Linked DNA regions of Homo sapiens: all the other regions are linked to region 1. The links are contacts of gene promoters, found by promoter capture Hi-C in blood cells and fetal thymus (Javierre and others, 2016). All regions are on one chromosome and are shown on one strand. Each heading gives the region's core, a stretch centred on a gene start or on the middle of the fragment in contact. The rest is flanking DNA. Distances are from core to core; before and after follow the strand shown. Region 1 holds the start of KRTAP2-4 (keratin associated protein 2-4). Region 2 overlaps LOC100505782 (a long non-coding RNA gene). Region 3 overlaps KRT33A (keratin 33A).

Evidence for each region. The method cuts DNA at HindIII sites, captures the fragments that hold promoters and counts their contacts. A CHiCAGO score of 5 or more calls a contact.
Region 2: a contact is called between a fragment that was not itself captured here and the fragment with the promoter of KRTAP2-4 in region 1, in 3 of 17 cell types (naive CD8 T cells, activated CD4 T cells and total CD4 T cells). The highest score is 7.3, in naive CD8 T cells.
Region 3: a fragment that was not itself captured here is called in contact with the fragment with the promoter of KRTAP2-4 in region 1 in 2 of 17 cell types (total B cells and naive B cells); the score reaches 6.0 in total B cells.

What each region holds. Positions count from the first base shown.
Region 1 is chr17:41,063,964-41,068,105 of GRCh38, forward strand. KRTAP2-4 (keratin associated protein 2-4) reads right to left here and starts at 1,916. Exons shown (of 1, transcript NM_033184.4): 1 at 1,153-1,916. The coding sequence starts at 1,882. The coding sequence ends at 1,496. RefSeq lists enhancers at 1,112-1,649, 1,650-2,186. The HindIII fragment of the contact is 6,863 bases long and covers 921-4,142 here.
Region 2 is chr17:41,412,279-41,416,420 of GRCh38, forward strand. LOC100505782 (a long non-coding RNA gene) reads left to right here. Exons shown (of 3, transcript NR_040111.1): 3 at 141-310. Among named protein-coding and RNA genes, the nearest start is that of KRT37, 10 kb to the right of the region's middle. The HindIII fragment of the contact is 7,068 bases long and covers 1-4,142 here.
Region 3 is chr17:41,346,321-41,350,462 of GRCh38, forward strand. It overlaps KRT33A (keratin 33A), which reads right to left. Exons shown (of 7, transcript NM_004138.4): 1 at 4,100-4,142; 2 at 3,026-3,108; 3 at 2,163-2,319; 4 at 741-902; 5 at 524-649; 6 at 128-348. Among named protein-coding and RNA genes, the nearest start is that of KRT33A, 2.4 kb to the right of the region's middle. RefSeq lists enhancers at 140-640, 641-1,141. The HindIII fragment of the contact is 520 bases long and covers 991-1,510 here.

The DNA.
Region 1 (4,142 bases), core at 666-3,165:
ATGTTTAATAACTATAAGGTCAGTGTTGCTTGAAGTGAATCTTAGTGGGGAGCAGTGAGACATGGATCTATAGAGATGGGCAAAGGACAGGCAGCAGACCACCTGATGTGCACACACTTCCTAGCCACATGGGTAATCTGAGGACTGGCCTAGCTCTCCTGTAACATCTTCAAATACCAAATACTTGTACCAGGAATCCTAGTGCCTGTCTCTGTTCCTCTTCTGTCTTTCTCATCATCTCCATCATCTTCCTCTTCACTCTTCCTCCTATTCATTGCCTTGCCTCCCCTCTTCACTTTTTATTCATCCCTTATCTCTTACTTTTTGTCTCTCTTTTTTTGTTGTCATTTTATTCCACCTATGACAAACTCAAGATACTGTTTTTTTGCACATTCATTTACATTCACTTCTCTGCCAAACCGATTCTTCTGATTACAGTTTAGCAGGTGCTGTTTCATACTTATTATTATATTACATTTTTTTCTTCACTTTGGGTGTCTTCATTGTGGCTTGTCCTTGTGACTATTCTTGGAAGGCTTCCAGGCCATGCTTGTTAAGCCCTCAAGGAGCTCAAATCCTGGTCTTCCTCTGAAATAATGGTCCTGAAATTCTAATGAATTACATGGAAGTGATAGAAAATAAACAGCCTTGGGCCCCACTCCCAGAGATTTTGATTCATTAGGTTTGGTTTGGGGCCTAAGAATGTGCATTTTAATAGGCAATTGCAAGAGATTCTATTGTGTATGACGCATGGGCCACACTTTGAAAAATGCTACTCTAGGAACTGTGGTAAGAAGATGAGATGCGCTGTGCTGGTCAGTTTACTACCAGTGGTCATTCTGGGCTTGGCATATGCTATTCCCACTTCTACCCCTCTTCATGAACATTGTCTTTCCTTTTGTCTATTCCATTAGACCATAAGCTTCTTGGATACAAGGCATGTAGCTTGTTCATCACTAATCAGGCAGCACCTGTCAACTGGAGGTCCCTTGATAAACAATTCCTGAATGACTGAATAGATGAGATTTCTATGGATAAGGTTTTGCTTAGGTTGAGCTTTGTTTCCCTTGTGCAGGTTCCAAAATCTTGCTTATCTGTGTACGCTAATAAACATGCACTAACGAACAAATCAGGGAGCAGGGCAGTCTGCTATGCCAGGAAAAATTAGTTTATTGACAACAGTGAGCAACACATTGCAAAAGATGATGGTGACAGTTTGAGCAGTAAAAACCATCAGGTTGTAGAATGTGTTTGCAAAGTCCACCCCAGGAATTCTTAAAGGTCGATTTACTATCCATAATGACTAAGGCTGATGTAGACACCTGAAAATGTGGGTGAGGGTGGTAATGGACGTCTGCTTACACCAGGCTGTATCCAGATGGTAAAAATCACTATTGTCACCTTGTGAAAAAAAATCTATTTTTCTTTTAACTTTTTAAAAACACCAGATAGATGTTTAGGCTTCAGTGTATTGCTCTGTGGGGGCATTGGGGTCTCAGCAGGAGGAGGTCCTGCAGGTGGTGCTGCAAGGGGTCGGCTGGCCGCAGGGGGGCCGGCAGCAGGGGGACTGCACAGACACAGGCTGGCAGCAGGTGGTGGCCCAGCAGCAGGGCCTGCACACCACAGCCGTGCACGACGAGGGGCAGCAGGTGATGGGGCGGCAGCAGCCTTCCTGCAGGGAGCAGGGGTCGCAGCACACCGGGCGGCGGCAGGGCTCGCAGATGGGGCGCGTGCAGCGGGGCACGCAGGTCACGGGGCGGCACACGGTGGTCTGGCAGGTCACGGGGCGGCAGCAGCAGGGGTCGCGGCAGCAGCAGGGCTGGCAGCAGCCTCCCCCGTAGCTCAGGGAGGACAAGGTGGAGCCGCAGCAGGAGCCGGTCATGGTGGTGTCTGAGGCTGGTGTGGGTTGGGCTATTGAGAGGAGCTGGATGTTCTCAGGTGTGAATGTCCTCCTCCCCCTCTGGGCCCTTTATATACCCTGGCTGGGAGCTGATGACCCTTCAACATATGATCATTTTCTTGTGCATCTTCTGGCCAATTAAGTGAAGATTTAGCATTGACTAATGGTATTTTGGTCACTCTTCACCTCATACATATTCATGTACATACACCACAAATATTCGCTCATTTTCTTGTATTGTTTATCCTCACTAAATTTAGACATTGGATTCACTTCTGATTAATTTTCCTTTGAAATATTCCTAACCCATAAGAGAGAAAAGAATGTGTTTTCTAAATTAGTGTCTAATCGCTCTGCCCTTTGGCGCTAAAATTAGCATGTTCTTCCTTGTCTTCAAAGGCTCCCATCACCGGCACCCAAGCAGTGACTTGCCTTATTAATGCACATGGGCATGATGGTAGCAGGTTAATTGCATCATCCTAGTGCAGACCAGTAGTCATCTGCTTCACAGATAGCTCCTTCCATGACTCACTTAAAGATAGGCTTGTGGTTTTTCATATGAGCAGGGACCACACGAAATGCAGATCCCTGGCCACTGGTGTGGTCACTCTCCCCTGACTAGGACCTGGGCTTTCCTGCCTTGGTTTTGATGTGTCATCATTCACCTGGAATGCCCTCCTCATCCTTCCAATCCAAACTCAACTTCTACCTTGATTGTAAAACCCTCTTCAAGGATCCATTGCAATTATTATATTTGTAATTTGTTTGGAATTAGTCGTTGCATCTGTAGAGTCCGGGAAGGGATTGCGGAGAATATGTAGGCCTATGCCCTCACTCTACAGCTGAGGTCCTGAGAGTGTACCAAGGTCACACAATGAGGTCACCATATGAGGTCTGAGATCCAGGTCTCCTCAGTCTGCAGTAAGTAGCCTCTACTATGAGTTTTATGCTCATTGGATTCAGTAAACCATGGTCTTTAGACAGGAAAGAAAACATATATTAAAGTAGAAGCCCAGACTTCATGCCACTATGCAATATATCCATGTAACAATGCTGCATTTGAACCTCTTACATTTATACATATTAAACACAGATTTAAAAAAATAAGTAATGAACTTTCCTTTCAGCAGCAAGGTTAGAAGTGGTACTGGAAGAGAATTAGGGAAATGTTTTGCCCAGATGACACATTGTCATCCTGGACCCCCATTGACTCCACTAAGTATGACAATGTGTCTGAGAGCTAGAGAAGGGACCTGGAGAAAGCTAACATGATGCAGGGTTTATTAGTGGAACTTACATACAAGGGTGGTCCAGTGGTGGTATCTGGACAGGAGAACTGCTATTATTTGTAAAAAGCATGCAGTTCACACAGTATTTTCATTAGAACCCTCCACCTAACAACCTCCATTTAATCCAAAACAAAGGGCCTCAATCCCCAGTATGACCTGTGTTCTAATGGATGAGGTGGGGATTCAAATGTCCTTCATAGATAAGGAGTGGATCTCCAAGTTGGCCACTCCCAGATCCTTAGCTCAGAACTCCAAGCATACATTCTTCTTTGATTGTAGGATCATTCTCAGGGTATGCTTAAGTTAAGTTATTGCTGCCAGATGTGTCTGCCATACCCTCCACCTCAGCATACCCTTGAATAGCCCTTACATTCTAATCACACCATTCTTCTGAGATTTCCCTGGGGCTAGGATATGCAGAGGAGCATTGCAACCAGATGTTTCAGCAGCAACATAAACTACTACAACAAAAAAGAATAATGAATGTAACAACAATTGTACTGTATAGAAAGTTTTTCCAAGCACTCAGGAGTTGATTAAACCATGTGGTTACAGGGTCATAAGATAGAGATTCTATAGCAGAAATCTGGGTATCTAGGGCCCACATGGCCTGTGTTACATTGTGAGAGTAATCAGGGATATATACACAAAATTCAGTTTTAATTAATGCACAGGTTCTGCCCTGATAAGCGGTTAAGATGTCCTGGGCCATGCAATTTTGCAAAGTAACACACCTAATTTGGGCAGTTTCTTCAGTGAGAAGAGTAATATCATGGCAGATATCATTAAAGACTGCAGCCCTATGTTAAGCCAGGGCCTCAACTTGCAGCTGTATGTCTATTGTCACCACTTGGGTGGTGAGTGGTGGGGGGAGTGGCGGGGGGGACATGGCAAAAGTGGCCAACGGGTAAAACCACTGGGATGCATGCTTCCAGCAGTGCCTGGCTTTTACA
Region 2 (4,142 bases), core at 743-3,242, 350 kb after region 1:
AGAGTGCCCAGTGCGGAACAAACGCACATCTATGCTGTCTTGTAAGAAGGAGATTTTAGATTTTAATAAGAAAGATAAAAAAGTAAATGATCTTGATATTATGAAGACAGTAAAAGGAAGTATTTTTTTTTTTTTAAAAGACAGCTGCAAAGATTTCGAGGTGGAAGAGAGCTCACTGAGAGACCGGAAAAAGACTTCATGGAGTAGGGGATTTTCCAAATATGTTTTGAATGATATTTTTTATAAAGGGTTGGGGAATGAGCTTCTCTCATAGAGAACAAAATAAACACAATCAAACATTTGGAAAATGGAAAATAGTCTAGTTGTGTTGGTATTTATAATGGAGACATTATCCCCAAGCCCCGGAAAGTTGCATTGAGTCCAGGTTGTGAAAAGTCTTAAATACCAGGACCATGGTCTTGAGGCAAAGGTGAGTGAAAGGTAGGGATCTGCCCTGGAAGACGACTTTCAAGTATAAGGAAAAATAAATAGCCAGCTTCCTTTTGAAGGAAAGTAGCAGAAAAAAGGTGGAAAGTTCCTTTACACAAATTATTAGAAAACTGAAAATGAAACCTAAGTTCAAAATTAATCTTGGTGTTTGAAAACTAACACAGTTTTTAATACTCCTTGGGTTAAATAAGAAATCTAATTTAAAAATTTTTAAGTATTTTGAACTGAATTAAAATCAATACACAACCTATAAAACAGATGTTGGCAATTAAGACTTTCCCTGTGCATACGTGAAACAGATAAGCGTTTTGGGAGTGAGAAAAAAACGGCTCATAATAAAACTGATGGTTTGCAATTTTCAGAAAATAAAATTATGCTTCTGTGTACTGGAGTCTACAGGCTAATTAAGGCAGGCAGTGATTAACACTTTATGGTGTCTGTTCTCAGGGCCTCACCCACCTTCCCAGGCATCTTTCCTTTCTATTGACCCTTTCACCAGACTGAGTCCCTCATCACCCTTGTTTACAGAAGATACGTACTCAAGAACTTTGATCTTTCATCTTTTGAAATATTTTTGCATTTCTTTGAAATGCATCTACCTTGATTATCCATTGCTTGGGAGACTCTAGAACAAAATTTAAATTTCCTTAATCTTCAGACACACTCAGAGCATCAGAACCTTTATGGCCTCCCCTATTTCTAAAACAAATAAGCCAGTGGCCATTTGTTCAATACACCCTGGAAAAGGGCAGCTAGCCAGCTTCCAGTCTATGCTAACAAAGATGCTAATTTGACCGCATTCCTAAGATGAATGAATTCACCACGAGGGCCCTTGAAGCAGCAAGTGTGTTTCAGCTGGCACTACAACATAGCATCTCCAGGACGAAAGGGACTTCAGGGTCCTCTAGTCTAGTACCCATTTGCATTAAATCCCTTCGATGACCTTCCTCCAACTAGTCATCTAGTCCACCATTTTCCAGGAGAGCTTACACCATCAGTTCCTGTGGCTTACAAACAGCTTCCCAGGCTTTGTGCAAGACACTGGTATCCAGAAAATTAACAGCAGCTAGCTCAGCCTTAAGGCACTCACATTATAGAGAATTTTTAGAAAGTCTTCACAAATCTACCTTCGTGTTACCTCTCCCTATAGCTTTTGTTGGGTCATTCATTCATTCATTCAACAAATAGCTATGAAGTACCTACTCTGTGCCAACCAGGGGCTGAGCTGGAGGCTAGTAATACATTGGCAAGTAAGTCAGAGAGTTGGCCCTTTAGTTCATTTACTCTCCAGTTCTCCCCCATGGTGTCCCATACAGGATAAATCTAATCATTCTGCCATATTCTCAGCTCTTTGTGGCAGATGTGAGATTTCTTACTCCTGGTTCTGCATTCAGCATGGTTCAAAGTCCCCTTGCCATCCCAGGAATGTTTCCCTGGACATGCTCCATGATGTAACAGTTACTATCACTCTTAAGTGCGGGCTGTACAGTGGGATTTCTGATTAGTTTAGATTGAAAGGCTGCCAGTAGATGGCCAGAAAACCTTCTTGCCCAGGACTTTTGTGTAAACCATGCTGGAGCCACTGGCTATTCAGCCATGACAACCAGCCAGCCACCAGTTGGTCCCATATACAGTCAATGAGACGCATGGGGACCCTTCTCTGTAACTCTATACAGATGTGGGTGATATTCTCCAAGGCATGATTTGCCTTATCCTGGTGACTTACTCTGAATGTCTGATATTCCTGAACTCCTGTTATACCAAAGCCCTTCTCAAGGGGATGGGGGATGCAGAGATGAAAAGGAGAAATTTCCACCCTCAAAAAGCTGAGAGCAGAAAAAGAGGTCACGTAACTCAGTGGAGGGAGAAGTGACTGGAGCTTAGAGATATAGAGGGGCCATCAAAGACACTTTGTCTGGAACTTAAGATTGGGAAGACTTGGATGGGCAGGAAAGATGGGAGACAGTTTTCCAGAAAAAGAGGATGAACAGGCCAGGCGCAGTGGCTCGCGCCTGTAATCCTAGCACTTTGGGAAGCCGAGGCAAGCGGATCACGAGATCAAGGATCGAGACCATCCTGGCCAACATGGTGAAACCCCATCTCTACTAAAAATACAAAAATTTGCTGGGTGTGGTGGCACACGCCTGTAGTCCCAGATACTCGGGAGGTTGAGGCAGGAGAATTGCTTGAACCTGGGAGGTGGAGGTTGCAGTGAGCCGAGATCGAGCCACTGTGCTCCAGCCTGGGTGACAAAAAAAAAAAGAGGATGAACACAAGAAAACACTCAGAAGCAGAAGTGGGCTCAAGAGAACTGGGTACAACTTCAGAAATGCAACAGCCAACAACAGGCCTGTCCCAAGTACTGGACCCCCAAAGAAATGAGTTTGAATGACACAAAATGTCAACCCAAAGAGCCAAATTGCATTTCTGAAGCCTGTAAGAGTGAAGTTTGTACTCCTCTATGCTAAAAATATTGTCTGCTTCTATTTTCATAACATCTCCACCAGTGGTCAAACTTTAACCAGCATCAGAATCACCCAGAGGGCTTGCAAAAAATGCAGGTTTTCAGGCCCCACACCACAGTTTCTGATTCAAGCGGTCTGGGGTCAGGCCAGGGAGTCTGCATTTCTAACAAGTTCCCACATGACACTGATGCTGCTGGTCTGGGGACCACCCTTGGAAGACGGAATCACTGCTCCATAGCAATAGACAAGTTTTGTGGTGACTTCATCCTAGGTGAATGAAGCACCAGGTCACAAAACAGGATTTGATGAATTCAAGAGGAGCCAGTGTTTGGATTACTGTACTTCAAATCAGTTAGCATGCAGTTTTCTCCAATGTAATAAGCAAGTTCTGTTTGTTTTCCTAGTTTGCTCTTCTTTGCTGAGGTTTGTTTTAGGAGGATATCTAGGATGAAGGAGAGAGGAGAGACAAAAAGGAAAATATGCACACTGTGTTGCTTATGCCTGTGGGGAAGAGGCCAGTCCACGCGAAAAACAATGTTCATAAAGGACAGATAAAGGTCACATGAAGTAATATCTATTGACATCTATTATGTGAAGGGAACCGAGCTTGGCACTTGGTATACAATATTTTACTTAATTCTCTCTCACACATTCACAAATCTATACACGCAAATTAGATAGACACCTACTATGTGCGGCCTACTGTGTTATTATTTGACCACCTACTATGTGCCACCAAGTATTATACCATATGCTTCCCATATAGTTGTGTCTTTTCATCCTTATAACCACACTACAAAGCAGTTACAAGTATCCCACTGTAGAGTAAAGAAAACAAAGCTCAGAGCAGTTAGGGATGTTGTCTGAACTCACCAAGTTGGAATGAAAAGTATGGGCCTTGAAATGTCAGCCCAGGTCTGCCTGACCCTGAAGCCCAAGTTCTTTCTGCTCTGCCCAGTGACCCAGAAAGGGCCAGATAGTGGACTCTGGACTGAACACAAGGCCAACACTCCTAGACGCCAGCTGTCCAACTGGATTTATTCAACAAATAGCTATGAAGTTCCTGCTCTGGGCCACACAACTTGCCTGAAGAGCTAGAAACAGAACAGAGTCCTCTGGAGGTTTTTGAGCAGATGAAAGAGAGAATCAAAGGAGAAATTTTAGAAAATTAATCCAGTGCCTGTCAACCTAAAATAATCAAAAGGCTCAGGATCTGGTTAAAAAGAG
Region 3 (4,142 bases), core at 1-2,500, 280 kb after region 1:
ATTGTTCCTCCTTGGACTTCCTCCAAACAAAAGCTTGAAATTATAAATTCATTTCCATCAAGAAGACTATTCATCTCCACAGCAACCTAACATGCCCCAAGGAGAAGATTACTACCCCCATACTGACTTGCAGTCCTCGCTCTCCAGCAGGCTCCGGTACGTGTTGATCTCACACTCCAGCCGCGCCCGCACGTCCAGCAGCACCTGATACTCCTGGTTCTGCCGCTCCAGGTCACTGCGGATCTCCGCCAGCTGGGACTCCACGTTGGTGATCAGTCTCTGCACCTGGGACAGCTGGGAGCTGTAGCGGGCCTCGCTCTCTGTCAGCGTGTTTTCCAGAGAGTCTCGCTGTGGTGGGGAAGATTGAGAGTGTCAGAGAGCTGCTCCTTATAAGGTTCCTCCATGGGGTTCCAAAGAACTCACAAGCTCCAAGAGCTAAGGAGAGTGTGTGGCCCCAAGGGCATCCCCAAGACTCTGCCTCCCAAGTTCCCATCGCTCACCAGCAGGTCTGAACAATACACACCAGGTTGTGCTGGGCCTGCAGCTCGATCTCCAGGGCATTGACCGTGCGTCTCAGCTCGATGATCTCCGCCTGGTAGGACTGCAGCTGCTCCGAGCTGGATACCACCTGCTTGTTCAGCTCCTCGGTCTGAAACACCCAAGGGGAGAAAGGATCAGACCCTGCCTCCGGGGCCCTGGGGGGCCTCGGGTCCTGAGTGGCCACGTGCTTAGATGCCCACCTGCGTGGCGAACCATTGCTCCACTTCCCTGCGGTTGGTTTCCACCAGGGCCTCATACTGACTCCTGGTCTCATTCAGGACCTGGTTCAGGTCCACAGTGGGAGCAGCGTCCACCTCCACGTTGAGGCGGTCTCCAAGCTGGCAGCGCAGGGTGTTAACCTCCTGATGGAGAAAGGGCAAAATTTTAAATTTCACAAAGGATCTTGGTGCTCTCCTTAAGAGAATGCAATTCAACTTCTGATCATTCTTAAGCTTTCAAGAAACTTTGTTCCCTCTGATCCTGTCACTAACCAGGATCTATATTCAATGACTAATTTGTATACTCCACTTTTTACAAACTACTTTCAAGCCCATGACTTCCCTCTGCTCTTTGTATTAAATGTATCACTCCTCATTTAGAGAGATTCAGTGATTTGGGCTCAAAGCTGATACATGGTGGGCCATTATTTAAACTCTGGTCCCCAAATGCCCAGTTCAGTGTTTTTGCTAGTATACCATATAGCCTCACATGTTTGACTCTTAAGCATGGATAATAAAAAGAACAGAGTCTAGCTAAAGAGGAAATACAGAATGCTTACTTCAAAATCTGCCATCCTGGCATAGAAGAGACTTAAAGGGTGATTTGTTGATTCCACCAGCATAGATTTTGCTGAAGGCAATAAGTATCTGTTTACTTCCCTGCTAAGCATAGCTTGGTACTTGGGCTTAGGCGGATTTCAGACAAATTTGTATTCAACCTCATCTCTACCACTTAATACATTGCTTCTAGAAGCTTCTTGAAGCCTCGATTTCTTCATCTTAACATGAGAACTGCCTCCGGAGTTAAAGCACTTAGCACAATGTTTGGCACATACTAAGCACTTGATTAATATTAACTGTCACCATTTACATTGTTCTTGGATTTCAGGTTGCATAAAATACACGTCTTCTTTTTTGCCCAACTGACTTAGCCATAATGGTGAGCATTTTGCTCAAGGCTGTTTCCAAGCAACACTGAACAGCAAGCAGAAAGAGCTCTGGACAGGAACGAAGAGAATTGCATTTTGTTCTAGCTCAGCCCTCTCTGCCTGATGGGCCTAGGCCATCCTGGCTTCTCCAGCTACAAATGGAGAATTGGAATAGAAGATTGCTGCTGCATGCACTCTAACCTGGGCACAGGAGAGGCTGTGGCTTCTGCCTCATTACCCAGCTTTCCTCACTACTGGGCTTGCCAACTTCCTCACTCTCATTCCTGCCTCTGGCAGAAAAATCCTAATCTCATATCACAGGTTTTTAGATTAGTCATTCTCTACATATCCCTTTTTGTATGCAGAATTACTTCCTCAGCTAATTGAGCCTCTACTGACAGCCTGTCCTGGACCCTGTGGCAGTTGTGAAACAGGTCCTGGCTAGTCTGAGCCCATCACTCTTCAGGGAACTCACCTGCTCATGGTTCTGCTTGAGGCACAGCAGCTCCTCCTTCAGGGACTCCACCTGGGCCTCCAGGTCAGACCTGCACAGGGTCAGCTCATCCAGGATCCTGCGCAGGCCATTGATGTCCGACTCCACCAGCTGCCGCAGGGACAGCTCGGTCTCATATCTGTGATCACAGGAGGGTCAGGAACAGGCTGGGCAGGAATAGGCCTGGCCTTGACTCTGCTTTGGTTTGGTTAGTCAGGCAACTAGGAATTAGGGTTTGTAGTTTTTATAGCCATCTCTTTTGTTTAGGTTTTCAGCATCGAGCTGGAAGAAAATGCACTGGTAATTTTACGTTTAAAGATCCAGTGGATAGACTTCTATATTCCTAGCTATTCAGGAGGCTAAGGGGAGAGGGTTGCTTGAGCCCAGGAGTCTGAGGATCTGAAGTTACACTGAGCTATGATTGCACCACTGCCCTCCAGCCTGGGTGACAGAGCAAGGCCCTGTCTCTAAAAAAAAGAAGAAAGCCAGTGGATTTAGGATAAAAGCTGACAAACTGTAAGACTTCCAAAATAATATGCTTCCACATTCTCCATTCTCATGAATGGGTTCTGTGCATAGGAGAACATCGGGGGCCAACACGTCTACACTAACTCACAGTACGACTAGGGGTGTCACGTCACAGAGGAGAAGAAGGAGGAAAGGAAGTCTAAGGCCTGGGGAAAGGATCTCTGAGCTACGGTGTGTGGTGGCTCTGTGAATCTTGGAGAAAGCAGCTAGAACATAGCTCAGTCACTGTTTGTTTAACTTGTGTTGACAACAGGCTAAAGGAAAGGAGGGCTGCCAGAGAAGAGAAATAAACAGCAACACCCCGCTTGCCCACTCACTTGGTCCTGAAGTCATCTGAGGCCAGCTTGGCATTGTCGATCTGCACCACAAGCCTGGCATTCTCAGACTTGCTGCACAGGATCTAGAAGGCCCAAAACATTCAAGAATGAGCAAGGACTTGGTAATTTTTCACCAATGGCAGTCCTTCCTAATTCACTTCCTTGGAAGGATCAGGATGTCTATCTTATTAAATGCTTTCTATATACAGCAGGTACTCAATGAATATTTCCAAAATTATATTCAAAAAAAGAACACCAAAATATGCAAAAAGTATAAGTAGATAATCTTTTTTCTATCCTAATGAGCAATACTGAGAAGCTGATCATAATAGTTGACATTTATGAAAAACACCTACTATGTTTCTGGCATGATACTAGGAGCTGAGGATACAAAAATTGGTAAGCACTTGATCCTGCCCTCAAGAAACTTTCAATCAAGCAGAAAAGACAAATAGGTAAACTAGCAATTGCAGGGGACTGGATCAGGGAAGAAGCCACATGTTCCCAGATGTCCCAGACAACTGGGACTACTTTGTCCTAGGTAATTTCCAATCTTCCCAATTTGGGCCAAACATTTTAGGCTCTCACTGGACACTGTGCACCAGGAGAAGCCCAGAGGCATGAAGGTGAGGACAATGAAATCAGGATAAGTAGGAACCTAGAAGAGAGAGGCAGCCAGCAGTCCAAGGGGCAAAAAGCTCAGATGAGGGAGAAAGAAAATGGCCCAGTCTTTACAAAAGATTCCGTTTCCCCAGCTTCCTTTGGACTCAGTCCTTTTCTCTCACCTCAGGGTAATAATTCTGGAGCTTGGCAGGTGCATGGAAGCATTCAGAGGTAGTTTTTAATTACAGCTCATTTATGCAAAGTGCTGCTACCTCCACATAGACTAACACTATGCAAATATTTAGACCTAACAGTCCCAAGTCTAGTATTAGATGGGCCCTCAAAAAACAAAATGGAAAGGCCAGTTTTCAGCTTTTCATTCACATCAAGAGCTTACGTTGTTTCTCAATCACAACTCGGATTCTCTCCCGACAACTTCCTACTGGAGGCACTGTGTCGCCCACTCCTCACCTTCTGCTGGAGCTCCTCAATGGTCTTGAAGTAGGACTGGTAG